5 separate regions of the Homo sapiens genome follow, and all the other regions are linked to region 5. Evidence: promoter capture Hi-C in 16 types of primary human blood cells and fetal thymus (Javierre and others, 2016). All regions are on one chromosome and are shown on one strand. Each heading gives the region's core, a stretch centred on a gene start or on the middle of the fragment in contact. The rest is flanking DNA. Distances are from core to core; before and after follow the strand shown. Region 1 overlaps EPB41 (erythrocyte membrane protein band 4.1). Region 2 overlaps EPB41 (erythrocyte membrane protein band 4.1). Region 3 overlaps EPB41 (erythrocyte membrane protein band 4.1). Region 4 overlaps SRSF4 (serine and arginine rich splicing factor 4). Region 5 holds the start of PHACTR4 (phosphatase and actin regulator 4).

Region 1 (5,755 bases), core at 227-2,726, 560 kb before region 5:
TTAATAATAGAGGAAACTGCAGTGTGGGGTATATAGGGACTCTGTACTATCTTCACAATAAATCTGTAAATCTAAAACCGTGTGTGTGGTTTTTTTAGACTAGGTCTTGCTTTGCCCAACATGACATACTGAGGACACATCACCTCTGTATTCTTCCCAAAAATCTACTATCTAATCGTGGAAAAAAATCAGACAAACCCCGACTGGCATTTTGTAAAACACCTGGCCGATACTCTATGAACGCATCAATGCTATGAAATGCAAGGAGATACTATCACAGATTGGAGGAGACTAAGGAAGACATAACCACTAAATGCAATGTGATAGCCTAGATTGAATCCTGGTCATCCTAGGTGACAATAAATTATGACTTGTGAAAATCTGAATAGGATGAAAGTTTACCACTACCCTAACCACAATAGAAGAGAGTTCCAAATCCAATCACAGTGCTGCACATCAGTTTTGAAGTCAGCTAAACATTGAGTCTTAGCACCCTCAGTTACTAGCTTCATGACCTTAGATAAGTTACCTCTCCCAGTCTGACTTTATGATTCATAAAAGGAAAATACCACCAGCTAAGGTGTGTTATTGCTGTAAGAATATTAAGCAAAGTGCAGTAAATCTTACTTATTTCTCTCTTCCTATCTTTTCTGCTTTTTGAGCAGAACAAGACAGACTCAAAGACAAATGTTGCCATCTATTTATCATCAAAATATAGTGAACACGGCAAATATGTTTGATCCAAAATGCTTTTCTGTTGCTGCCCTTTATTGATTCAAGCTCAAATGTTAAAGAAAAAAATACATAAAGACAAAACTTTTTCAAAAAATTAAATATACAAACTAAATATACCAAATATATTCAACTCAAATATATTCACAATACTAACAGTATTGGGCTCTCAACATTTAAATTGTCAACTGAGGTATTTAAAAATCTAACAAAATGTCTATACGTGTCTTTGTAAAACAAGAAAATCCTGGAAAAAAGCTTTAGTTCTTCGGTCACTAACTACTCATATTTCTTTGTTCTACTTGTAAACCCTTGACCTCCAGAAAGCTACCCCAAAAATAAAACAACGAATAATATTAATGACAAATATCAAGGCCATACTATCACAGAGCAAGTTTGCTTCTAAGTGATTTGCAGAGCATATGGTCTTTTAATATTCTACTTGATTTTCACTACCAAAAGAAGAGATGAAGAGAATTAGAGTTGACATGGAAGAGAAAATGTACTGAGAGCCTGACAAAACAAGAATATCTAGTCTAAAACTTAACAGAGGAGAAAGATCTTAGACTGAAAATATATAACTAGTTTGGCCTGTTTTTCATCTCCACATTAACAATAACATGAATTATTTGGGAAAAAAAAGATATCTGCTTTTTTTTTTTAAAGGAGGTAGGAGAGAAGCATAAAAAAAAAAAAGGAGAAAAAGCAGCAGCTTTGGCTCCTGGAAGAAAAGATAAAAATATAGAGGCCAGGCATGATGCTCATGCCTGTAATCCCAGCACTTTGGGAGGCCAAGGAGAGTGGATCACCTGAGGTCAAGAGTTCGAGATCAGCCTGGCCAACATGGCGAAACTCCATCTCTACTAAAAATACAAAAATTAGCCAGGTGTGGTGGCACCCACTTGTAATCCCTGCTACTCAGGAGGCTGAGGCAGAAGAATCACTTGAATTCGGGAGGCGGAGGCTGCAGTGAGCTGAGATAGTGCCACTGCACTCCAGCCTGGGCAACAGAGCAAGACTCCATTTCAAAAAAAACAAAAAACAAAACAAAACACTACAAGTTTCTAGTTGAACATTAAATCCAAGAAAATGATTCACATGAAGCAACTTATAATAACCAAACAATTGCAATAAATGCTTAAAATATAGACTAGGCATATTACAACCTCTTGGTTCATCTCTTAAGATTACTTACTATGCAGAAGTAGATTTACTGTTAAAATAAGCTTAAGCTCAGGGCCCTCATTTGTACTGGCCCCTGCCAAGGCCACCAAGCTAAAAGGAAGACTGAATTATCTTTGTGCTGTCTCTATTGAAAATATTACAAAGTCATTGGTCGGGCGCGGTGGCTCACGCCTGTAATCCTAGCACTTTGGGAGGCCGAGGCGAGTGGATCATGAGGTCAGGAGATCGAGACCATCCTGGCTAACACAGTGAAACCCTGTCTCTACCAACAATACAAAAAAAAAAAATCAGCCAGACGTGGTGGCGGGCGCCTGTAATCCCAGCTACTCGGGAGGCTGAGGCAGGAGAACTGCTTGAACCCGGGAGGCGGAGGTTGCAGTAAGCCGAGATCGCACCACTGCACTCCAGCCTGGGCAACAGAGCGAGACTTTGTCTCAAAAAAAAAAAAAAAATTACAAAGTCATAATATAAAACTCTTTAGAGGAGTATGAAGCCAAAAATACAGAAAAAAATGAACTATGACACCATATCAGTTAATTAAAATGTTAAGCTATTTTTCTAAATTTTGTGATATTTGTGCTATTTTTCAGCCTTTTTTTTTTTTTTTTTTAATGACAGAGTCTTACTCTGTTGCCAAGGCTAGAACCACCTTAGCTTCCCAAGCTCAAGTGACCCTCCCACCTCAGCCTCCCGAGTAGCTGGGACCACAGGTACATGCCACCACGTCCCATTAATTTTTAAATTTTTTGTAGAGGTGTGGTATCATATGTTGCCCTGGCTAGTATGAAACTCCTGGGCTCAAGCTATCCTCCTACGTCAGCCTCCCAAAGTGCTGGGATTACAAGCATGAGCCACCATGCTCAGCCTATTTTTCAGCTTTTTAAAATATGTAACTTGTGGTTTTCTCATTCTAGATAGGTATTTGTTTTCATCCCTAGTTTTGTATTCATAATTTTGTATTTTTTCCTAAAAAGTCTCTGTTGATAAGTATTCTGAATACTGATGGAATAATTTAGTCTGCCTCATACTTTCAGTATCATGTATTTAAGATATGTTTAAAAATCTCCCTTCCCATCATGGATCTTGGGTATTATTTATCACAAGGTACAATATACCACAGGATTTTTATTGAGAACTTTTATTTCTTAAAAGCATATTCAGCCAGAGAAAAATTACAGGTAAAAAAGGTGATGAAATGGGCCAGGTGCGGTGGCTCACGCCTGTAATCTCAGCACTTTGGGAGGCTGAGGCGGGCGGATCACCTGAGGTCAGGAGTTCGAGACCAGCCTGGCCAACAAGGTGAAACCCCGTCTCTACTAAAAATACAAAAATTAGCCAGGCATGGTGGTGTGTGCCTATAATCCCAGCTACTAGGGGGTCTGAGGCTGAAGGATCACTTAAACCTGGGAGGCGGAGGTTGCAGTGAGTCAAGATCGTGCCACTGCACTCCAGCCCAGGCAACAGAGAGAGACTCAGTCTCAAATTAAAAAAAAAACACACACACACACAGTTCAGGGCCAGATGTAGTGGTTCATGCCTGTAATCCCAGCACTTTGGGAGGCTGAGGAAGGACAATGTCTAGAGCCCAAGAGTTCAAGACCAGCCTGGGCAATATGACAAGACCCCGTTTCTATAAAAAAAAAAATTTTTTTTTTTTTAATTAGCTGGTGTGGTGGTGTGTGTCTGTAATTCCAACTACTCAGAAGGCTGCGGCGGTAGGATCACTTGAGCCCAGGAGTTCAAGGCTGCAGTGAGTTATGTTGGTGCCACTGCACTCCAGCCTGGGCAACAGAGTAAGACTCTGTTTCTTTAAAAAAAAAAAAAAAAAAAAAGGAAGCAACATATTGTATAATTCTATTTATATGAAATGTCTAGAATAGGTAAATCTAGAGAGACATAAAGTAGTTAGTGCTTACCTAGGACTGGGGTTGCAGGGTGGGGAATGGGGAATGACTGCTAATGAATATGAAGTTTCTTTTCAGGGGGATGAAAATGTTCAAAAATTAGATTGAGATGATGGCTGCACAACCCCATAAACACACTAAAAAACATTAAATCGTATACTTTAAATGGTTAAATCATATGATATGTTAATTATATCTCAATAAAGTCTTTAAAAAAAAAAAAAAAAAAAAAAAAGAAGGCCCAGTGCCAGGCGCGGTGGCTCACGCCTGTAATCCCAGCACTTTGGGAGGCCAAGGCGGGCAGATCATCTGAGGTCAGGAGTTCGAGACTAGCCGCCTGACCAACATGGATAAACCCCGTCTCTACTAAAAATACAAAATTAGCCAGGCGTGGTGGCGCATGCCTCTAATCCCAGCTACTCGGCGGGCTGAGGCAGGAGAATCGCTTGAACCCGGGAGGCAGAGATTGCGGTGAGCCAAGATCGCGCCATTGCACTCCAGCCCCGGCAACAAGAGTGAAACTCCGTCTCAAAAAAAATAGTAAAAATTGGCCGGGCGCAGTGGCTCACGCCTGTAATCCCAGCACTTTGGGAGGCCGAGGCGGGCGGATCACAAGGTCAGGAGATCGAGACCATCCTGGCTAACACGGTGAAACCCCGTCTCTACTAAAAAAAAAATACAAAAAATTAGCCGGGCACGGTGGCAGGCACCCGTAGTTCCAGCTACTTGGGAGGCTGAGGCAGGAGAATGGCGTGAACCCGGGAGGCAGAGCTTGCAGTGAGCTGAGACAGCGCCACTGCACTCCAGCCTGGGCGACAGAGCAAGACTCTGTCTCAAAAAAAAAAAAATAGTAAAAATTAAAATAAAAAAAGAAGGCCAAGGTCACAGCATGTATAAGTCAAGTACCAGTGAGATTATAAAGGAACATCATTTAAAATAATAATTAGTTCCCATTCATTAAGAGCACATTATGTGACAGGTACTATGTTAAGCATATTACATATTATTTCTGATCATTTCGGCAGTTCTAAAAGGGAGGTATATCATGTTAAATGTTATACAAATTTAACAGATGAAGAAACTGAGAAGTAGGGAGAATGTGTAACTTGCATAAAGACAGACACACAGCAGTCAGTACCAGAGCCAGGATTCTAAACCACATTTATGATTCCAAAGATCTTTGACTGTATTGCACTGTTCCTTAGAAACAAACCCAAGGACCTTGAATCAGTAACCTAGTTCTTCTATAATTAATGTTATATGTTACAAAGGACACCCCCTTTAACATTTAAACTCAGCCTGCTCTAGGCACCAGGTGTTCTATCTTGATCACACCAACCTACCCTTATCACCACTTTCCTCAGCCTAACTTTGGACCTGATTAAGTACTAGATCTCCTCAAACAAAACTCTCAGAAATAAAACTGCAACAAACTAAACTGTAGTTTTCTCAGGTATCAAATGGCATTAAGCTTAAAAGAACCGGAAGGGAATATTTACTGAGAGCTATTTTGTTCCAAGTTGTGGAGCTATAATCAGAGATTATATGATCTGTGGTAAATGGTAAAAGGAAGGCCTCCCTACCTCTAACCCAACACCCCTGTACTGTTTGTGTTTCTCTTCTGTGAATGGTAATTAGATATTCCGTGGGTAACTGTGGTCTCCCCTAAGGGTTATATAGACCTGGTGTTGATCACATGAAAGAAGTGGGGCCTGTATCAGATATAACCACAGGCTGGTAAGATAAAGAATTTTTTTTTTCCCTCTGGACCTTCTCCTCTGTATTTAGAGAAATCTGGATATGCTGGAGGCACTCCCAAGTAGCAGAAATAAAGATGGCTTCTGCCACTAGAAAACATATGTGTTGTGGGTCAAGTAAGGGAGGTATCCCAATAGAATACCACAAATTACAGAGGTGTGTGTTTTATCTCGTGA
Region 2 (6,046 bases), core at 17-2,516, 650 kb before region 5:
ACTGCCCCTCTGCATGGATGACTACCTTGCTCTGCCCCACCTAATGTTGCCAGAAAGCTTTATCTGATTATAAAAATCATACACATTCACTGTATAAAATTTGGAAAATATCATTAAAAGCATAGAAAATATATAATCTCACCACCCACAGACATCTGTGCATGTTAACACAACACATATATTTGAAAGATTAATATCACAAAATAAATTATTTTTTGCCTTAAATTTTAATGATCAAGGTTTTCCCTAAAATTTCCAAGACCTTTGAGCGTCATAACAAACCAGCTGGGAAGAGATTAGATACCTCTAAACCATTAAAAGTACTGTCTTGAATTTTTTCAGTACCACCTAATAATTTACTACTTGTAAGTACTGCAGCTTACAAAAGTACCTGACCAGGAAGCTCCGGCACTGGTTAAAGCTCATTAAAAAGAGAAGTTACAATAAAGTTTCCCTGCATTTATTTCAAGCAAGTGCAATCAGGATAGAGCTATTCGGTGTGTTCCAGTGTTATGTGACTCCCTTTTAATAATGTTTGTTATATCTCCTAATTAAGGATTGTGATTTCAAAGAATTAAGTGGGGGACAATAGACAAGTTTACATACCTTCCTAATACCAATAAATGGAGGGCAATTAATTTTAAAGCTTGATTTGCTAGTGTAAATTTAAAGTGTTAATTATAGCTTTAAAATCCCAGTCTGGGCAAAGGGCCACTACTAAGGATTCCATTTATGCAGGCTGTCTTCTATCTGAGAAGTGCTTGTACTGCACTTTCCAATGCATAGTAAAATGCATATGCCTCAGTGGAAGTTTCTTTGGATTAGTTAAAATGCCATGTTGTTGGACATAATTAAATTGTTCCTTTGGGTTTGTGAGGGTTGCAAATCTTTCCAAAAAGGAGCAAGTAAATTCCAAGATGACAGACTCCTAAATGTTCTGGTCACGGCGATCCATTATTGCTCAATTTCTACCACATCTCTAACAGAATATCAGCTGAACTATATCCATTTGTCCCTTGAGATTGTTTCACCTAATTGGGTTTACATTCTGATAAAGGTTAAAACTAGTTCTCCAAACCAAGACACATACATTCATCACTTGTGAAGTGAGGATAAGAATTTTTTTTTATTTATATTTATTTATATTTTTTATTTATTTATTTTTTGAGACGGAGTCTCGCTCTGTCGCCCAGCTGGGGTGCAGTGGTGCGATCTCGGCTCACTGCAACCTCCGCCCCTCCAGGTTTAAGCAATTCTCTGCCTCAGCCTCCGGAGTAGCTGGGATTACAGGCGCGTGCCACCAAGCCCGGCTAATTTTTTGTATTTTTAGTAGAGACAGGGTTTCACCATCTTGACCAGGCTGGTCTTGAACTCCTGACCTCGTGATCCACCTGCCTCAGCCTCCCAAAGTGCTGGGATTACAGGTGTGAGCCACCACGCTCGGCCTTTAATTTATTTATTTTTAGATGAAGTCTTACTTTGTCACCCAGGCTAGAGTGCAGTGGCATGATCTCGGCTCACTGCAACCTCCGCCTCCTGGGTTCAAGCAATTCTCCTGCCTCAGCCTCCAGAGTAGTTGGGACTACAGGTGCGCGCCACCATGCCCAGCTAATTTTTGTATTTTCAGTAGAGATGGGGTTTCACCATGTTGGCTAGGATGGTCTCAATCTCTTGACCTCGTGATCCACCTGCCTTGGCCTCCCAAAATGCTGGGATTACAGGTGTGAGCCACCGTGCCCAGCCAAGAATTATTATTATCATAGCAGATATTTGAACTCTCACTATATACTGTCATTGTACTAATCACTTTATATAAATTTTCTGATTTAACAATTAGAAAATTCACATTATTGCCCTTATTTTTCAGATGAAAAAACTGAAGCTTAGAGAGCTTAAGTAACTTACCAAGAGGCACACAGTTAACAAGGAATGGAGTCTGAATTTAAAGAAAGGCTAACTCCAGAGCCCAAGATTTTAACTATGGTGCCCTATTGCCCCAACTCAGTGGTTCTCAAACTTTTTTGATCTCAGGACCTCTTTATTCTCTTAACAATTATTGTAAAAATTATTGAGGACCCTAAAGAGCTTTTCTTTCTTTTTTCTTTTTTTTGAGACGGAGTTTTGCTTTTGTTGCCCAGGCTGGAGTACAATGGCATGATCTCGGTTCACTGCAACCTCTGCCTCCCGAGTTCAAGCGATTCTCCTGCCTCAGCCTCCTGAGGAGCTGGGATTACAGGCATGTGCTACCATGCCCGGCTGATTTTGTATTTTTAGTAGAGATGGGGTTTCTCCATGTTGGTCAGGCTGGTCTTGAACTCCCGACCTCAGGTGATCTGGCTGCCTTGGCCCCCCAAAGTGCTGGGATTACAGGCATGAGCCACTGTGCCCGGTCAAGAGCTTTTCTTTATGTGGCTTATAGCTATTTGTATTCACTATATTAAAATTGTTTTAACTAAGGAAAATTTAAAATGTTTATTAAATTTCTAAAAAGTAACAGTAATCCAGCCAAGCACGGTGGCTTACGTCTGTAATCCCAGCACCTTAGCAGGCCAAGGCAGGCAGATCACCTGAGGTCAGGAGTTCAGGACCAGCCTGGCCAACATGGTGAAACCCTGTCTCTGCTAAAAATACAAAAGTTAGCCAAGTGTGGTGGCAGGCACTTGTAATCCTAGCTACTCGGGAGGCTGAGGCACGAGAATCACTTGAACCAAGCAGGCGGAGATTGCAGTGAGCCGAGATCACACTATTGCACTCCAGCCTGGGCGACAAGAGTGAAACTCCATTTCAAAATAAAATAAAATAATGGTAATCCCATTACTTTTTAACATAAATAACATAATTTCTGAAAAATACCAATATTTTCTGAAACAGTGATGAAAAGGTAACTTTGCTTTACATATTTACAAATCTCTTCAATGTCTGGCATAGAAGACAGCTGAATTCTCCCAACTGCTTCTGCATTCAATCTGTTGCAATATATTGATTTGGCAGTATGTGAAGAAATCTGATCTCACACAGACATGTAGTTTGAAAAGGGGTGACTATGAATTTAAAACACTCTTTTTTCTTTTTTTTTGAGATGGAGTCTTGCTCTTGTCGCCCAGGCTGTAGTGCAATGGCACGATCTTGGCTCACTGCAACCACCGCCTCCCAGGTTAAAGTGATTCTCCTGCCTCAGCCTCCCAAGTAGCTGGGATTACAGGTGCCCACCACCATGCCTGGCTAATTTTTGTATTTTTAGTAGAGACAGGGTTTCACCATATTGGCCAGGCTGGTCTCAAACTCCTGACCTTGTGATCCGCCTGCCTCGGCCTCCCAAAGTGCTGGGATTACAGGCATGAGCCACTGCGCCTGGCCTAAAATATTCTTTTCTGGTATTACACTAAAACTTATCAATGGCAGTTTCTTTTTTTTTTTTTTTTTTTATTATATCAATGGCAGTTTCTTAAAGATAATTTTCAATGTGAAATGTAGAAACTTATCAATGAACTTTTTGTACTGTTACATTAAAATCCATTGGTCTATCTTGCATTTTGAATGGATCTTTTACCTGTGCATGATTTTTTTAACATTGTGCATTTCTAATCTGAAAAATACTTGTTCACCAAGTTATGAAAATCTTCCAAACCTTGATATAATATGTGTATAAAAAAACACATTCATTAAAATAACCACTGACCTTAGCAGAAAAGTCTTTAAAAGCTGTCAAGATCATGGGGATATATAAAAGTTTTCCAAAATTCCAATTTTTACCAGAAAGCTTGAATTTTGTCATTAGCAACAAATACTGTCAGTTGCTTTCCTAAAAGTACTAGCTCATTTCATTTTTGAGAAAATGTGTGTCAAATAACCGAGTCCGAATAATCATAGTTTGTCATTTTTTCAAGAAAACATGGTGTTTTATAGAAAAGATGGCCACCGGGCGCGATGGCTCATGCCTGTAATCCCAGCACTTTGGGAGGCCCAGGCGGGCGGATCACGAGGTCAGGAGATTGAGACCATCCTGGCTAACACGGTGAAACCTTGTCTCTACTAAATATACAAAAAATTAGCTAGGCGTGGTGGCTGGCGCTTGTAGTCCCAGATACTCAGGAGGCCGAGGCAGGAGAATGATGTGAACCCGGGAGACGGAGCTTGCAGTGAGCGGAGATCACCCCACTGCACTCCAGCCTGGGCGACAGAACAAGCCTCCGTCTCAAAAAAAAAAAAAGAAAAAAAAAGATGGCCAATTCAGCTCACAACTCAATTGCACAAGTGCTTTTCCTTGAGACAACTGTTGTGCTTCAGTATGCAGCAAAAATGCTTTGTGTGTACTTCCCATCTAATCACACAGAATATTAAATAGAAATGTATTCAAGACTTAATAAAATTAATACTTTTTGCTGCTTCGTTAGGAAAATTCTAAGGTAAGCTGGCTTTCTTGCACTTCCAGCTGCAAGTGCATGCTGGAGAACAATATAGTGACTCTTAGTACAGTTTGCTCCAACTGCCTTGATTTGTGCCCCACCCATTTCAACAGAGTGAAAAAAGCAAATAACATCTTAGCATTATTACAAAAATAATTTTGACTTCATGGACCCCTTGAAAGAATCTTGAAGATCTCCAGGGTCTGTAGACCACCTTTGAGAACCGTTGTCCTAACTCAAAGGGTGGTTATAAAGATTAAACGTGATGTTTTACATAAAGTGCTTATCATAGTATCTTGCACATAATAATAGATGCACAATAACTGGCTACTTATTATGATTATTATGTAACAATTCTATAAAGGAGAATCAAGCATTGGATGAGAGACTATAAGTCCTCTCAAACCTGAGATTCTATTATGATCAGATAACCATTAAAAGACTCATTAGGCCGGGCGCAGAGGTTCATGCCTGTAGTCCTAGCACCTTGGGAGTCTTGAGGCTGGAAGTTTGAGATCAGCCTGGACAACATGGTGAGACTACCATCTCTACAAAAAAATTTAAAAATTAGCTGGGCATGGTAGCACACACCTATAGTCCTAGCTACTCAGAAGGCTGAGATGAGACGATCACTTGAACCTAGGAGATTGAAGCTGCAGCGAGCTATGATCACACCACTACACTACACTCTGGGCAACAGTGACATTCCATCTCTCTTTAAAAAAAAAAATCAGAGACAGATTTCAAGTATCAATCACAATCTGACATCATCATTTTCTGCGGTTCAGCTCTATGGCAGCAGTAAAATATTTTCTTTTACTATTTTACTGATTGCCCAAGGGTTATATTATAACTAATAAAAAATATTTTTAAATTATTAGGTAATAAAAATAACATTTCCCTACAGTATTGACATTCTAATTAATCAAATTATTTTGTTTCTTTCCAGTACTTGCTTTTCTATGTATATATGCATATATTTTTATATGTCCCTATTTTTTATATATGTAAATGTTGAGAATCATAACCAGAATATAAATAAAAGTGCTGTAATCCCAGCACTTTGGGAGGCCGAGGCAGGTGGATCATGAGGTCAGAAGTTCAAGACCAGCCTGGCCAAGATGGTGAAACCCCGTCTCTACTAAAAATACAAAAAATTAGCCAGGTGTGTTGGTGGGCGCCTGTAATCCCAGCTACTCAGGAGGCTGAGGCAGAGAATTGCTTGAACCCGGGAGGTGGAGGCTGCAGTGAGCCAAGATTGCACCACTGCACTCCAGCCTTGCCAACAGACCAAGATTCCATCTCAAAAATAAAAATAAAAAATAAAAACAATAAAAATGTATTCAAAGACAATGTAACATGCTTAAGTTATAGTCATCAACAAGTTGAAAGTGGTGTATTTAGTGACTCCAGACATTGGTACTGGAATAAGTCAAAACTTAAAAAGCAAACGTGCAGTTCTCTTTGGAAATAGTGTGACCCCAAGAGAGATGGGTAACTCTTATAAGACTACTGCTATGTAGGTTGTAGACTTTAAAGTCCTTAGTATGGTCCTCATGACTGAGGTACCTGAACCTACAGGGGCAATAACGCACCTAGAATTCAGACATCTTAAGTTACAGCTCTCTCATTTGAAGCAT
Region 3 (5,762 bases), core at 1,325-3,824, 680 kb before region 5:
ATAATTGTGAATCCAGGATACACACGAATGTTAGAGTGTGTAGTGGGCTATCACACAGAGGGTAAAAAATAAATCATTAGTGCTCTGCCAGGGAACTGATAGCAACAAGGAAGTTAAATGTACCCTCAGTAGAAAGGCTAAAATGTGTTAATGATCATGTTCCATGAATGCTGAATTCAGGGGAGACAAGATCAAAGAAAAGAAATAGAAAATCCATTTATCTCGTAATTTTAGTTTCAAAAACCTGCAATGTTGTCTATGGCAGGAAAAAAAGGGTTAACTAAATGTGATTTCTTCCATGAGGCATTTTAAAAATAAAGATGTGTTCATTTTTAGGTTATTTCAGGAACCTAAAAATATATTGTAAGAAAAAAGAATTAAGTCTGATTTCTTCTGTAAGCCTCCTTGGAATGATTACAAAATAACTTGATAAATGGCTCTTCTGGTAAGACATGAACTACTTTCTGATGCTTGTAAGGACAAATATTTGAACCAGATGCTCTCCCTTTTAATAATAAATCATTTGATTAAAATAACACAAATTCAAAATCTTTGACTGTCAGTCCTCAAACCTAAACAAAAATATCTTTTGAGTTCTGTCCTACTATCTCTCAGCCTTACCAATTTGTATTACAGCTCTTATTCTCTAATATGTTTAGGGCAGTGGTTCTCAACTGGAGTAAATTGTCCCCAGAGAATATCTGGCAATGTCCGGAGACATTTTTGGTTGTTGTAACAGAGGAGGGGAGAGACGGGAGGTACTGGCATCCAGTGCATAGAGGCTGAAGTTACTGAGGTTGAGAAACCTTAATTTAGGGGAAAAGTTGTATAGACTGTTTTAGAGAGAATAAACTATACAGACTTATGATAAAATCTTGATCTTTTCAAAGAGCCAATTGTTGTTTTGGAATATTTGGTATCTAAGTTTTAGACAGCTTACTTCAAAACAATCACTCATACTCTTTTTATGGTTTTTATGTTCATTCTTTCAGGGATATAAAACATTTACACTTTGTAATAAAACTTCACTTATCTGACAGTATCTAGGAATGAAAGTGTTTTTGTGCATGATTTAGTATTTCTGATAACATATTGTTATCCTCTTTTGTACTGAGACTTTTTTTTTTTTTTTAAGATGGAGTCTTGCCCTGTCGCCTAGGCTAGAGTGCAATGGCATGATCTCGGCTCACTAGAATCTCCGCCTCTCAGGTTCAAGTGATTCTCCTGCCTCAGCCTCCCCAGTAGCTGGGACTACAGGCACATGCCACCATGCCTGGCTAATTTTTTGTATCTTTAGTAGAGATGGGGTTTCACCATGTTGGCCAGGCTGGTCTTGAACTCCTGACCTCAAGTGATCTGCCTGCCTTGGCCTCCCAAAGTCCTGGGATTACAGGCGTGAGCCACCGCTCCCAGCCAAGACTCTTATATTTTAATCAATTTGCATGGAAATCAATAATTTTTATTATAGACTTTCCTGCATTCTTAAACTGACTATAACTGAACATGATTCATCCTGAAATTTTTAGATTTGTAAACTGTAAGGATCAGATAAAGGAATTCCATGAATCTGAACAGATAAAAACTTTAAATTCCCAACTACTTCATACAACAATATTAAGAAAGAAATGCTTGGCCAGGCACGGTGGCTCACACCTGTAATCCCAGCACTTTGGGAGGCCGAGGTGGGCAGATCACCTGAGGTCGGGAGTTCGAGACCAGCCTGGTCAACAAGGTGAAACGTCGTCTCTACTAAAAATACAAAAATTAGCCAAGTGTGGTGGTGGGCGCCTGTAGTCATAGCTACTCGGGAGGCTGAGGCAGGAGAATCACTTGAACCCGAGAGGCAGAGGTTGCAGTGAGCTGAGATCGTGCCACTGCACTCCAGCCTGGGCAACAGAGCCAGACTGTCTCCAAAAAAAAAAAAAAAAAAAAAAAAAAAAACAGAAAAAGAAAAAGAAAGAAATGCTCATTACTCTGTCATAATTTCCAATGAAAGAACTAATTCCTTAGCGGATATATAGGAAAAACAGCAGAAATTCAAGAATCCCCTTTATCAGCCAGGCGTGGTGGCTCACGCCTATAATCCCAGCACTTTGGGAGGCCAAGGTGGGTGGATCACGAGGTCAGGAGATTGAGGCCATCCTGGCTAACACAGTGAAACCCATCTCTACTAAAAAATACAAAAAATTAGCTGGGCGTGGTGGCGGGCGTCTGTAGTCCCAGTTACTTGGGAGGCTGAGGCAGGTGAATGGCCTGAACCCAGGAGGTGGAGCTTGCAGTGAGCCGAGATCGTACCACTGCACTCTAGCCTGGGCAACAGAGCAAGACTCTGTCTCAAAAAAAAAAAGGATCTCCTTTATCTTTCCATGAAAAATCTGCGGCCTCTTGCACAGATTGCTACTACTGGGTTAGTAGTAATAACTCTGGATTAGCACAGAGCTACTACTAATGGGTGCTTTAAGCAGTCACTGCAAGAGTGGCAGATGGCAGACCAAACCTGACAACACAGGGGAATGTGACAAAATATTTTGCTCACAGTTGTGTTTAAGTATCATTATACATGTGTATTCACACCTCCTCTCAAAGAATTAATTCAACTATGCCTGGCATCATAGAAACTTAGCCCATGCTTTCACCATGTGTTATTTTGCCACTTGTCTTTGGTTTCAATCCAGTACTAATACTGCAGAGCCAAATGATTTATGTCTTCAGCATTCCTAGCCTTGGCAATCTGTACTGTATGTGGAAAAGAAGGTATTAGTGTGGAAACTGACAGAAACAGAGTTCACAGATTGGAAAAATAATAACATTACAATAAAAAGCTCTGGCTGTGAAAGGCTGCGTGGAACAGAGGCAAAAGCCAAATCACGAGTCTTAGGCCCACACTCAGTCACATATAGTAGTGTGCCTAAGGCGTGGAGCTTAATCTTACAAACTTTAGTTTAATCATCTGTAAAATATGGAAGATATTAACTCTATAATATCATGGTAGTGATCATGGCTTTTTTTAACAGCTTTTTTTGAGATACAATTCACATACCACACAGTTCACTCATTTAAAATATATAATTCAATGCTTTTTAGTATATTCACAGTGTTGGGGGTAAGGATTGCTTTTTAAGATGTGTGGGTCTTCAGTTTTATTAATTCAGCTGTTAATATTTACAAGATTTTGGTGCATATATAGACAATACATAACTTTAAAAATCCAGTATCTCCCATATCTGAGGGTCTACATAAAGAAAAATGCTGATGGTGACCCACTAACTTCAATACTATATTGCTCTTGGCTGACAACAGAAACTTAGATAGTTATATACTACAGCAGTAAAGAATAAAATTCAAACCATCAGACTGAGTAAAGGCAAACAACTTCTACTTCTAGCTGTTATTTACTAGCACAATTTCTGCTAGTATGCGGTAGGGTGGTTCTTTTATCAGAGGACCACATAAATCATTTGTGTCCTCTGATACAATGTTTGTTTTTCAAGACAAAAAACAAAAAAATCAGATGATGCTCAGGCCCACTCTAGTGAGATGAGCTATCCAAGAGTGAGGCTTGGGCATGTGTTTTGTTTTAAAGCTCCAAAGGTGATAAGGATGTACACCCCTGGCAAGAATCACTGTAACCACTGCTCACTGAATGGATGAACTACCTGGTTGTGTGGCCCTTTCTTTTGTGCTCCAGTTTCCTCATGAGTAAAACTGTAATTCCTAAATGTTTTCTCTTATTGACTAAGTTGCTAGTATTAAATAGGAATACATGGAAATGGTTTGAAAAGCAAAAAGTGCAAGAAAAATATAATCTTTGTCATCATTATTAGCTACGCTTGCAACTTACTACTCTATCATAAAACTGGGATCTGAACCAGTTTTGGTACTCCAGCTGGTGAAGCAGATGCTCTAAGCACCACACATAACAGAAGAGGAAGGGAATGCTCATTTTTATCATTAAAATAAGACCCCTTATAAAGCAATTCTTGTAAAAGTTTCCCTGATACACCATCTCTAGCTTACAGAGTTATATTAATCTTTTGAAAAGGGAGGGGTGACTCAACGGGAAAAAGTATCTTTTAAGGAGCACAGAGAAGTATCTAAGGAAAGGAGGGAAAAATAGTTACACAGACATATTTCCACTTTTTATACTATAGTACAAAGAGAAAAATAAGACATTTAAAAACAGAACTACAAAAAAAAATTGTCCTATTCAGTTTATATGCACTTCAGATACTTAAAAGATAGAACAGTGCCTGGAACATACTAAGTGCTCAAGGAATATTGACTATTAACTTTTATTCTACTCTTTCTAAAAAAAAGAAGTCATCATGGTGAAGAGTAAAAAGCATGGGCCTAGGAGAATTGTCCCGGATTCCCTTCTAATTCTTTCCAACTAGCTATGTAACCTTAGGCAAGTCACTTACATTCTAAGGTTAAGTTGTAAGAAATAATGAACATTAATGAGTATCTAGTTCAAGAATTTTTTTTAAAAAAGCTCAATAAAAGCGTAAAGAAAATAATAGGCCGGGCGCGGTGGCTCACGCCTGTAATCCCAGCACTTTGGGAGGCTGAGGTGGGTGGATCACCTGAGGTCAGGAGTTCGAGACCAGCCTCAACATGGAGAAACCCCGTCTCTACTAAAAATACAAAATTAGCCGGGCGTGGTGGTGCATGCCTGTAATCCCAGCTACTCGGGAGGCTGAGGCAGGAGAATTGTTTGAACCTGGGAGGCAGAGGTTGCGGTGAGCCGAGATCACGCCATTGCACTCCAGCCTAGGCAACGAGAGCAAAACTCCGTCTCAAAAAAAGAAAATAATAAAGATATCAGCTGGCATGAGTTAAACTATATATAATAGGAAAAAAACAACAAAACCAAAAGTTGGTTCTTTGAAAAACTTAAGACAATTACTTTGTACCCCATAAATATATACAATTATAAATTGTCAGCCAGGCTCGGTGGCTCACTCACGCCCGTAATCCCAGAACTTTGGGAGGCCGAAGCAGGTAGATTACTTGAGGTCAGGAGGTAGAGACCAGCCTGACCAACATGGTGAAACCTCGTCTCTACTAAAAATACAAAAATTAGCCGGGCATGGTGGCGCATGCCTGTAATCCCAGCTACTTGGGAGGCTGAGGCGGGAGAATCGCTTGAACTTGGGAGGCAGAAGTTGCAGTGAGCCGAGATCACGCCATTCCAGCCTGGGCAGCAAGAGTGAAACTCCACCTCAAAAATAAATACATACATACATACATACATACATACATAAATTGTCAATTTACAATATAAAAAAGAAAAGATTAATAAAATCAATATACCTCTACCAAGGCTATTCGAAACAAAAAGGTACAACTTACCAATATCAGGAATGCAAAAGTGGACCCTGCTATAGTTCTTACAGATATTGAAAAGATACCCAGCTTTATGTAAATATATTTGGAAATTTAGATAAAATGCACATTTCCTAGAAAAACACAACTAGGCCAGGTGCGATGACTCACACCTATAATCCCAGCACTTTGAGAAGCCAAGGTGGGAGGACTGCTTGAGCCCAGGTGTTCAAGATCAGCCTGGGCAACACAGTAAGACCTTGTCTCTACAAAAAAAAAAAAAAAAAATTAGCCAGGCGCGGTAGCGTGAACTTGTGGTACCAGCTACTCAGGACGCTGAGGTGGGAGGATCATTTGGGCCTGGGAGGTCAAGGCTACAGCAAGCTATGACGGCACTACTGCACTCCAGCCTGAGAGAGCTAAGACTCTCTCTCCAA
Region 4 (5,468 bases), core at 2,740-5,239, 800 kb before region 5:
ACAAGGTCAAGAGATTGAGACCATCCTGGCCAACATGGTGAAACCCTGTCTCTACTAAAAATACAAAAATTAGCTGGGCATGATGGCGCACGCCTGTAGTCCCAGCTACTCAGGAGGCTGAGGCAGGAGAATTGCTTGAACCCAGGAAGTGGAGGTTGCAATGAGCCTAGATCGGGCCACTGCACTCCAGCCTGGTGATGGAGCAAGACTCCATCAAAAAAAAAAAAAAAAAAACCTATCTCCTGCACAGTCTCTCCCTTTTCTTATGCCTCTCCTGACTCCTTTTTTTTTTCCAAACTTGGAATCATACTATAAGTTATTTTATAATTTGCTTGTTTCACCCTAACAGCCTGATCCTTTTCCTTTGTCATTAAGTATTCTCCTACAACCTGGTTTCTAATGGCTACATAGTACTCCAACATACATATGTTATTTAATGGACATAATCAGAACCATGTTGCAAGGCATTTAGGTTATCTTTATTTTTGTACTATTTTATGCATGTATAATACTGTTGAATATCCTTTATATGAATTTTTGTATACATTTCTTTTTGCCTTAGGGCAGATTCCTGCAAGTAGACTTTGGGAGTCAAAGCATATACACATTTTAATGCTTTTGCTAGCTATTCCATTACTCGGTAAATTAATATTTACGTTTCCACCTGCGGTGTTTAAGAGCTCCTATTTTTTTTTTTCTTTTTTCTTTTTTTTTTTGAGATGGGGTCTCAATCTGTCTCCCAGGCTGCAGTGCAGTGCAGTGGCATGATCTCAGCTCACTGCAACCTCTGCCTCCCGGGTTCAAGCAGTTCTCCTGCCTCAGCCTCCCAAGTAGCTGGGATTACAGGCGCCTGCCACCACACCCCGCTAATTTTTGTATTTTTAGTAGAGACACAGTTTCACCTTGTTGGCCAGGCTGTTCTCAAACTCCTGACCTCAGGTGATCCGCCCACCTCATCCTCCCAAAGTGCTGGGATTACAGGCGTGAGCCACCGCACCCACCAAGAGTTCCTACTTTTCTGAACAGTGCCCTTTATTATAATTTTTTAAACTAATTTTTTCTAATTAAAATGTTTAGAATTATATATGAGGAAATCATTTGGCAGCCTTTAAGGCTTGTCTATTTAGCCTATCAAGCATAACAAATTCAAGAACTTTTTGGACCAGGTGCGGTGGCTCACACCTGTAATCCCAGCACTTTTGGGAAGCTGAGGTGGGCGGATCACTTGAGGTCAGGAGTTTGAGACCAGCCTGGCCAGCATGGTGAAACCCCGTCTGTACTAAAAAGACAAAAATTAGCTGGGTATGGTGGCACTTGCTGTAATCCCAGCTACTTAGGAGGCTGAGGCAGGAGAATCGCTAGAACCCGGGAGCCGAGATTGCACCATTGCACTCCAGCCTGGGCAACAGAGTGAGACTCCATCTCAAAAAAAAAAAAAAAAAAGAAAAAAAAAAAACAACTTTTTAGGCCAGGCGTGGTGGCTCACACCTGTAATCCCAGCACTTTGGGAGGCCGAGGCGGGCGGATCACGAGGTCAGGAGATCGAGACCATCCTGGCTAACATGGTGAAACCCTATCTCTACTAAAAAAAAAATACAAAAAAAATTAGCCGGGCCTGTTGGCCTGCGCCTGTAGTCCCAGCTACTTGGGAGGTTGAAGTAGGAGAATGGCGTGAACCCGGGAGGCTGAGCTTGCAGTGAGCCGAGATCGCACCACTGCACTCCAGCCTGGATGACAGAGCAAGACTCTGTCTCAAAAAAAAAAAAAAAAAAAAAAAAAGCCTTTTTGACTCATTAGAGAATAAATGTAGGTTAATTGTAGATCATTTAGATATTATGAAAGCATAAAGTGAAAAGTATCATTAAGCATCCTTTTAAGATGGGTGAGGTTTTACGTGCAATTTTGTGTCACGCTTTTTTTACTTAATTTATCTCATGTATTTTCTATTACATTAAAATCTTCCTTATTAATGGCTTCATAAAATCCATTGTATGGCAATATTATGACTTACCCAACCATTCCTCTTATATTGTCTACCTTTTTTTTGGTCTCCTAATTCTTGCTGTTATAAGTAACCCTGTGATGGGTATTATGTGCATAAAACTTTGTTTGCATTTTTATTATCCCTGAGTACATATGGATTCCATGAAATAAAATTCATGTGTCACAGCAGGAGTGAACATATTCAAGTATCTCAGTGCATATAACCAAATAACTTTCCAGAAAAGCTACACCAGTTACACTTAACACCCGCAGTGTATGAGCATGCCCGTGTGATGGGCACTTCAACAGCATGGAGTACCCCTGTTGTGTTTGCTGGCCAGGCGTGGTGGCTCACGTCTGTAATTCCAGCACTTTAGGAGGCCAAGGCGGGCGGATCACCTGAGGTCAGAAGTTCGAGACCAGCCTGACCAACATGATGAGACCCTGTCTCTACTGAAATTACAAAAATTAGCTGGGCATGGTGGTAGGCTCCTGCAATCCTAGCTACTCGGGAGGCTGAGGCAGGAGAACCGCTTGAACCCGGGAGGCGGAAGTTGCAGTGTGAGATCACACCATTCCACTCCAGCTTGGGTGACAGAGTGAGACTCTGTCTCAAAAATAAAAAATAAAAATAAAAGATGCTAATTTACCAAGTGAAAAATAATCAGGAAGTTTTTCTTGAATGAATAATAAATAGAGATAGGACTATGAATTAAGTAGCATTCTGTCATTGTTTTATTAGTAATATAACTATTACAAATGTGATCAAATTTTTTTTTATTAAAAGTCACTTTTTAAAGTCAACTTACCCCCCAAAAAAGTGTATTATTTTTTTCCCCCAATATATGGGGAATTTAATTTTTTTCTGTCATTTTGAAAAATCAATGCCAAGAGATAATACCATATTGAGATTTTTGACCAAATGTTAACAGCGTAAATTGCCCTGGTTCAAGACCTCCACTCCTTGGTTCTTGGTCCCTTCAGTTTGTGGTATGAATAAACATCATTTGTAATTATTTGACTAAGTCATTTAAAATCCCTGTTCTTCAGTTTAATATACTGTTTTGCTCCTCCTTTCTCATTGAGGTACTGTATGAATTTAAGGGCCATACGAAGTATTTGTCCCTTCTTAAAAGATAGGCACAGGATATAGACTCGGTAATAAAATGTGGTTTGGGTTTCTAGTATTTTTTTATGCTTCCAGGTACCCAGAACCGCAAATTTTACTTTGAGCTCCTCAGAAGAAAGGTGCTCCAGGCATCTGAGAGAATACCGTTGGGGTGATACTTACAAATTTGTAAGCTAACACTGAAATCTTAAAACTTCCGAAAATATTAATGCATTTGTATGACTTATTTTTCAACTGAGTATGTCAAAGTACTTTATGAACAAGTGTTGTCCCTAGTTTGTACTGATGGGGAAACTGAGGCATGGGGTGATAAGGTGACTGGCCCAAGGTTACAAAATGAGTTATTGACAACTCCGGAAATAGAAGATTTTTTAAATTCCCATACTAGATACATGTGGGCATTGACATTCAAAGCTTCCCTCATGCTATTTCCTTTAGTCCTGTCCTTTGGGGATTGCCTCTGAGGGTGAGAGGGTAGTTCAGGTTTCCGGGCTTGTTCAGCCTTTAGTCTCTGTAGAGGCTTCCAGCAAGCTGACAAGTTACTGCCAAAAGTGAGACAGATGGTATTTTTTATGATGTTGTCCTTAGTTGGAGACTGCTAGTGATTCTCCTCCTCAGGCTACTCTTTGAAAAGCTGTAAGGTGGTATCAGCTTTATCGTGGTTGGCTGAGGAAGGATTTGTACAAGTAAATGTTCTCTGCCTTATTGTCATTCCTAGGGCCGTCTGGTCTTATAGTACCCTGAAGGTGAGGGATTAGATTATGCTCTGAATTTGTATGCCCATAGTTTGAGGAAATGTTTTACTTGAGTTTTCTGTGTGTTGAGATGAAAGTCTCCCAGGCTAAAGATTTCTGAACTGCACGCAATGTCTGAAGAAGCGCTTGAAAGGCACTTTATTTCTCCCAGGTCCCCAACCATGGGTTTAGGTTTTTATGCCAGAAAGGGGACCTTCATGAACAAAGACCCCCAAGACCTAGAGAGAAGAGGAAGTCTGAAAGAGGGAGGTTTGAATTCAGCCTTCAGGAATGAAGAGGGCAGACAGAGCAGGAGGCTCAGGCAAGGGAGTCAGGAACCACAGACCAGAAACATGGACTTGGAAAGGTTTTCATGTAATTGAAATGAAGCTATTGATCCATCCATTTTAAAAGAATTTGAAAAATTCATTAAAATACTTAATTAGTGGCATCCACTAATTAATAAAAGCATAGGGAGTGGCATCTTTAACCAAAAATGAAAATGAAGAAACAGACTCCAGCCCAGGGACCAGGGGCGATTATGAGGGACATGGTGCCTCATACAGCCAAGATGATCCAAGAGGCATCATCTTTAATGAAGCTTTAACACCTGGCAGCCTGCTCATTGTGTTGTTTAAGAGGTAAGTATGAACTGGTTTTGTTTGTAGCTTTTGTGTGGAATCAGGTAGTGCTGTCTGCAGAGTGTAAACCTTTATTTCTTTAAGTAGGAATAACAGATAAAGTAATTCTATATTAAATCCCAAGAGTTTTATTCTAAATTGGTAATGTGACTTTCATCTCTCGAGTTTTTTCAAATCGTTTTTAATTTGTGGTTGAGTCTTCACGAACTTCTTGTCATCAGGCAATAGTTGATTCCCCTTTTTTGAAAGCTTTCAATTTCATTTATCCTTAGTGTTGAAAAGTGTCAGAAAATTGAAATGGACACAGATGATTGTATCTGCCCTCCCTTTCAGGAAAGCCATGTTGACTTTAAAATATCAAAAAAGAAAGTTCAGTTATGATTGCAGGGGGTAATGATAGTTTGATCCACAAACTATTTGCAGTGTAAAAGTGAAATACCTTAGCTGACTTAGTTCATTTTTGAAAGTTTTGAATAGCTAAAACAAAGTTGGCAAATAGGCTCATAGAGTAGTTACAGAGTAAGACTAAATTCATATTTGATGCAGATTCCTCTCTACCTCCCATTCTGGGAGGATTTAGTTTTACTGTTTGGTGTTTAGGATAATGATTGTTCTGTTTTTCTCACCCTACTATGTGAATATATATTCTGTTAGAGATGGGCTGTTATCTGCAATGTGGACTCAATACCATGGGCTTGAGTTTGGTTAGTTCATCATTAGAGATTTTTTTTCAGCAGTTGGTTTACTTTATGAGAAAGGATCATGAGTTTAATTTTCCCACTGATATATTTGTGTTCTCATTGCTGAGATATAAGTTTCTTAATGATTTGTTACCTTTTTCTATTTTCCTAGACTAGTATTAAAATTTTGATGGCATATGGGTTTGGTTCCACTTGTAGAGAATAAATGTTCACAACTTACTGGTATTAGCACACACACATCACATGCAGAAATGGTGTTTTCTTGCCACTTACTCTTTCT
Region 5 (5,650 bases), core at 2,930-5,429:
AGGACTAGATTTGAAGTATGGTTTACTCTGATATTTCCTACCTGGGTTAACTATAACCTTGGGCAAGTCACTTCAACATTTTAGAGGCTAGGCTTTATCAGCTGTAAAATGAGAGTAACAACCATCTCACAGAACTGTAGTGAGGATTAAATGACACAATGTGTATTAATTTGTTTAAAAAATGGTACTGGGAGGCCGGGCATGGTGACTCATGCCTGTAATCCCAGCACTTTGGGAGGCTGAGGTGAGAGGATCGCCTGAGCCAAGGAATTTGAGACCAGGCTGGGCAACATGGCGAGACCTGTCTCTATAAAAATTATAAAATTATGGGCCAGGCGTGATGGCTGACGCCTGTAATCCCAGAACTTTGGGAGGCTGAGGTGGGCGGATCATCTGAGGTCAGGAGTTCAAGACCAGTCTGGCCAACATGGTGAATTCCCGTCTCTACTAAAAATACAAAATTAGCCAGGCATGTTGGCACATGCCTGTAATCCCAGCTACTCAGGAGGCTGAGGCAGAAGAATCACTTAAACCCGGGAGGCAGAGGTTGCAGTGAGCCAAGATCGTGCCATTGCACTTCAGCCTGGGCAAAAAGAGTGAAACTCCATCTCAAAAAAAAAAATTATGTTTAAAACAAACAAAATAAATGAATAAATATATAGCTAGACACACTGGCTCACGCCTATAATCCCAGCACTCTCGGAGGCTAAGGTAGGAGGACTGCTTGAGTCCAGGAGTTCAAGACCATCCTGGGCAACACAGGGAGACCTCGTGTCCACAAAAAAATTAAAAAATTAGCCAAGTGTGGTAGTGTGCACCTGTAGTCCCAGCTACTCAGAAGGCTGAAGTGGGAGGATCATTTGAGCCCAAGAGGTTGAGGCTACAGTGGGCCATGATCATAGCATTTTACTCCACCTGGGGGACAGAACAAGACCTTGCCTCAAAAAAATAATAATAATCATAAAAATAAATAATATTGAGAAAATTGTCATGTTTGTACAATTAAGCAATAGTCAATAGTAACTGCTGTTTCTTAGTTTATTATTTCTGTGTTTTTTTTTTTTTTTGAGACTGAGTCTCCCTCTGTCGCCCAGGCTGGAGTGCAGTGGCGCAATCTCAGCTCGCTGTAACCTCCGCCTCCCAGGTTCAAGTGATTCTCCTGCCTCAGCCTCCCAAGTAGCTGGGATTACAGATGCCCACCACCACACCTGGCTAATTTTTATATTTTTAGTAGAGATGGGATTTTACCATGTTGGCCAGGCTGATCTCGAACACCTGACCTTAGGTGATCTGCCTGCCTCAGCCTCCCAAAGTGCTGGGATTACAGGTGTGAGCCACCGCGCCCAACCAGTTTATTATTAAAACTAGAGCAATTCTGTGGTTGCTTCTTCAAACTATAGCCAGGAAAACACAAAAGACCCTCACTCACTGCTGGATTAAAAATTGAAGAACTGCATTAAGGATCTACCATCCCTATACAGTATTACTAATACAATCTAGGATTCTCAAGAGTAAGTCACTTCCATTATGAGATATCAAACAAAGTAATACAGGGTGAAGGGCTTTATTTTGCCTACTCGGCTAGGGCAGGAATTAACCTATCTAACTTCAGTAACCTTCCCTGATTCATGTAAAGGGGTCCTCCTGGCTGTCCTCATCCCAGAGACTTGAAACACGAATTAACCTATTTTTCAAAAGGGTTATTTGCAATGACCTTCTTTAGAATTTTTTATTGGCCAGGCACGGTGGCTCACACCTGTAATCCCAGCACTTTGGGAGGCGGAGGCAGGTAAATTACTTTAGGTCAGGAGTTCCAGACCAGCCTGGCCAACACGGTGAAACACCATCTCTACTAAAAAAAAAAAAAAAATTAGCCGGGAGTGGTGGCACATGCCTGTAATTCCAGCTACTCGGGAGGCTGAGGCAGGAGAATCGCTTGAAACCAGGAGGAAGAGGTTGCAGTGAGCCAAGATCACGCCACTGCACAGCCTGAGCAACAGAGCAAGACTCTATCTCAAAAAACAAATACAGTATTCTTTATCTTAAGGTTTAATACCAGCACTTTGGGAGGGAGGATCACTTGAGCCCAGGAGTCCAAGACCAGCCTGGGCAACAGAGTGGGACCCCAATCAATACAAAAATTTTTTTAAAAATTTTTTTAATTAGCTGCGCTGGTGGCCTGTGTCTGTTGTCCCAGCTACTCTGGAGGCAGAGGCTTGAGCCCAGGAGGAGGTCCAGGCTGCAGTGAGCAGTGCTCAACTCACTGCACTCCAGCCTGGGAAACCCAGCGAGACCCTATTTCAAAAAATAAATACATAAAAATTGGCCAGGCACGGTGGCTCACGCTTGTAATCCCAGCACTTTGGGAGACCGAGGCGGGTGGATCACCTGAGGTTAGGAGTTCAAGGCCAGCCTGGCTAACATGGTGAAACCTTGTTTCTACCAAAAATACAAAAACTAGCTGGGCATGGTGGCACACACCTGTAATCCCAGCTACTCAGGAGGCTGAGGCAGGAGAATCGCTTCAACCTGGGAAGTGGAGGTTGCAGTGAGCCAAGATCGTGCCATTGCATTCCAGCCTGGGTAACAAAGTGAGATTGTCTCAAAATAAATAAATAAATATAAATAAATTAAATTAAATAGTCGGGCACAGTGGCTCATGCCTCTAGTCCCAGGCATCTGGGAGCCTCTGGTGGAAGGATGGCTTAAGCCAAGAAGTTCGAGGCTACAGTGAACTAGGAGCTCTCCACTGTACTCAAGCTTCAGCAACCAAGCTAGACTCTTGTCTCTTAAATGAAACAAACAAACAAATTTTACCTTAAGCTGATTCTAGCAATGCAGTCTTCCAACAGGAGGACATACACAGTTACCATTATCTAGCCAAATTTGATCGAATCCACAATCCACGCAGTTCCGCGGTTTCCGGTAAGAATCTACCACACCTCATCCCCTAAACTGGCTTCATTTCTAAACGGGCTTCATTCCTTTTTTTTTTAAGATGGGGTCTTGCTGTGTTGCCCAGGCTGGTCGCGAACTTCTGGCCTCAAGCGATTCTCCTGCCTCAGCCTCCAGAATAGTTGGCATTACAGGCGCGCGCCACCACGCCCGAAATTCATTTCTTTAATTTGGCGAAAAAGTAAGTGACTTCTAGAAGCCACTGGGTTTCTGGTTCCTCTATAAAGCAAATTCTTCCACTGAAGGACTTTTTCCTTCCACTGTTTGTTTTAAAAAGAACAAGAAAAGGAAGAGGTTGGAAGGAGCGAGGAGCTGAGTGTCCGAATGAAGCACTGGAGGGTTTTTTTTTTTTGCAAGCAATCAGTGATGCCCTGTAAGTCACTCTCCTCCGAGATTTGGGAGGTGCGTGAACTGCCATTCTACCATTCACCACTGGTTCTTTGGTCCACCGATCACAGATGTGAGCTGCACAGACATCGCAGCAAATTCGATGCCTTCCCGGTTTCCCGGAGCCGGGGTGTAGAGGGTGGGAGAGAGGGGTCGCTTCTTTTCCTTAATCTCATCTCTCCACCAAGAAAAACGTCGGGAGTTTCGTGCCCTGAAGCCGCCCAGGCTGATGTTTGAAAGTTAAATAATAACCTCCAGGTTTTTACAGAAACTCCGCCTGGCTCCGAAGCCCCCGTTCTGCCCAGCAGGGGTGCAGAGGTCTGAGGCAGGACGGTTTTGAAAAATGTACTTTGACCCGATCCGGTTACTGTAACCGGATCCCCAGGGAGCAGTCCCTGTTGGGGACCGGGGGAACAGGCTCCCCCGTGGCGGAGACTCCATGCACGGACACAAAGGGGGAGCAACGCAGCCCAGACAAAAGGGCCCAGCCAAGTCTCGGGGGGCGGAGAGGGCGAGCCTGCGCGGGCCCTGCCTCAGGCGGAGAAGCCCGGGTTGGACCGTTGTGGGAGGGCCGAGGAGGGAGGCGGCGGCCCCGCCCCGCCCTGGCCCGAAGCGACGGCGACCCGGGCCGTTACCTTCTGCCCGGACCGGGACCCTCTCGCAGAGCCAAGAAAGGGGCCGCAGCCTGAGAGGAGGCCGCAGCCTGATACTGAGCGCGTCCTGCTCACTTTCCCTTGCTCGCTGAACTTACCCAGATCTCCGCCGCCGCCTCCTCAGCCTCCACAGCAGCCTCTCCCGGAAATCCTACCTGGCCCGTTGGCCGCCAGGCAGCAGCCGGAGCCCTTGGCCCCCGGGGAGGGGGAAAAAGGGAGCCGGCTGGACAGTGTAGGGTAGGACGTGCCGCCGCGGAGGCTTACGGGACTTGTAGTCCCCAGCAGGGGCCGGTTGCCCGGCAAGCTGAACAAAATGGCGGGAAGCGTGCGTCCTTTCTCTCCGGGCGGTCGTCCTCCTTACGACCTCTCTGGGCATGCGCTGGCCGCTCTGCGCACCTTGTGTGTAAAAGAACTTGGGCACCTTTCCTGGTACTATGGGAGGCAAAGGTCTTTGGGCTTGGGAGGACAGGGTTCAATACTGGGCTCCAGGCAGTACCCAAAAAGGGAACTGATACAAGAGTGTTGTTTGAGAAAACTGTATCCCTGACTGGCCAAATTTCAATCATAACCTCCCCAAAGGAAAAACTATTTATTGAGGACCAATTTGAAGTGCAAAAAACGTACAAGCAAGTTATCTACCCTCAGTGTTGTGCGTAAGAAACCCAGGAATCATTCTGGACACTTCCCTCAAGCCATTAAGTCCAGTCATTCTACATCCCCAGTATTTTAATTCATTTCGATATCCTTCACTACTATCACCTAGTGAAAGCCACCATCACTTCTCTCCAAGTCTCAGTAGTTTCAGGCCCTAGGCTATCACCCTCCGAAAACCTTCCTTGCTGCTGCCAGAGGACCCTTCTAAATGCAAACCCATTGTATCACACAACCTAAATTAGACCTACATGTAAAACTTGAAGCTACGGCACATCTAGAGGACATTCCAGGAGAAAAATCGATGTGACTTTTCAAATACACTATCCATAAAATTAAAAAAATTGGCCAGGCGCGGTGGCGCATGCCTGTAATCCCAGCTACTCAGGAGGCTGAGGCAGGAGAATCGCTTGAACCCAGGAGGCGGAGGTTGCAGTGAGCCGAGATCTTGCCATTGCAGTCCAGCCTGGGCGACAGAGCAAGACTCCGTCGCAAAACAAACAAACAAACAAACAAACAAATTATCCGGGGCCTAGTGCCAAGCTCCTGTAGTCCCAGCTACGTGGGAGGCTGAGGTGAGATGATCACTTGAGCCTGGGGGGTCGAGATCGCACCAGTGCACTCCAGCCTGGGCAGCAGAGCAAGACCCTGTCTCAATAGAAAAAGAAAAAAGAAGAAAAAAAAATTGGCCGGGTGCAGTGGCTCACACCTCTCATCCCAGCACTTTGGGAGGCTAAGGCGGGAGGATCCCTTGAGCCCTGGAGTTTGAGACCAGCCTGCCAGCCTGGGCAACAGAGTGAGGCCCCATCTCTACAAAAACAATTTTAAAAATTAGCTGGGCATGATGGAACGTGCCTGTAGTCCCAGGTACTCAGGAGGCTGAAATAGGAGGATTATTTGAGCTGGGGAGGTCCAGGCTGCAATGAGCTGTGATGGTGTCGCTACACTCCAGCCTGGACGACAGAGGGAGACCTTGTCTCAAAAAAATATTTAAAATATATTTA

What was found. Contacts are between HindIII fragments. The CHiCAGO score rates a contact against its expected background, and 5 or more counts as called.
Region 1: a fragment that was not itself captured here is called in contact with the fragment with the promoter of PHACTR4 in region 5 in 1 of 17 cell types (total B cells); the score reaches 6.0 in total B cells.
Region 2: a fragment that was not itself captured here is called in contact with the fragment with the promoter of PHACTR4 in region 5 in 5 of 17 cell types (total CD4 T cells, non-activated CD4 T cells, naive B cells and 2 more); the score reaches 7.6 in total CD4 T cells.
Region 3: a fragment that was not itself captured here is called in contact with the fragment with the promoter of PHACTR4 in region 5 in 4 of 17 cell types (naive CD4 T cells, total B cells, total CD4 T cells and 1 more); the score reaches 6.6 in naive CD4 T cells.
Region 4: a fragment that was not itself captured here is called in contact with the fragment with the promoter of PHACTR4 in region 5 in 1 of 17 cell types (naive CD8 T cells); the score reaches 6.3 in naive CD8 T cells.

The regions. Positions count from the first base shown.
Region 1 is chr1:28,928,145-28,933,899 of GRCh38, reverse strand. The region is part of intron 1 of EPB41 (erythrocyte membrane protein band 4.1); the gene reads right to left. All of the region lies in intron 1 of LOC124903886 (a long non-coding RNA gene), which reads left to right. Among named protein-coding and RNA genes, the nearest start is that of EPB41, 16 kb to the right of the region's middle. The HindIII fragment of the contact is 968 bases long and covers 993-1,960 here.
Region 2 is chr1:29,019,752-29,025,797 of GRCh38, reverse strand. All of the region lies in intron 7 of EPB41 (erythrocyte membrane protein band 4.1), which reads right to left. Among named protein-coding and RNA genes, the nearest start is that of TMEM200B, 100 kb to the left of the region's middle. The HindIII fragment of the contact is 1,236 bases long and covers 649-1,884 here.
Region 3 is chr1:29,047,268-29,053,029 of GRCh38, reverse strand. The region is part of intron 11 of EPB41 (erythrocyte membrane protein band 4.1); the gene reads right to left. Among named protein-coding and RNA genes, the nearest start is that of TMEM200B, 74 kb to the left of the region's middle. The HindIII fragment of the contact is 7,587 bases long and covers 1-5,762 here.
Region 4 is chr1:29,169,442-29,174,909 of GRCh38, reverse strand. The region is part of intron 1 of SRSF4 (serine and arginine rich splicing factor 4); the gene reads left to right. It also overlaps a transcript of MECR not described here. Among named protein-coding and RNA genes, the nearest start is that of SRSF4, 9.7 kb to the left of the region's middle. The HindIII fragment of the contact is 921 bases long and covers 3,529-4,449 here.
Region 5 is chr1:28,368,269-28,373,918 of GRCh38, reverse strand. PHACTR4 (phosphatase and actin regulator 4) reads right to left here and starts at 4,179. Exons shown (of 14, transcript NM_001048183.3): 1 at 4,094-4,179. RefSeq lists a silencer at 3,806-4,025 and enhancers at 4,107-4,401, 4,052-5,007. The HindIII fragment of the contact is 7,867 bases long and covers 2,763-5,650 here.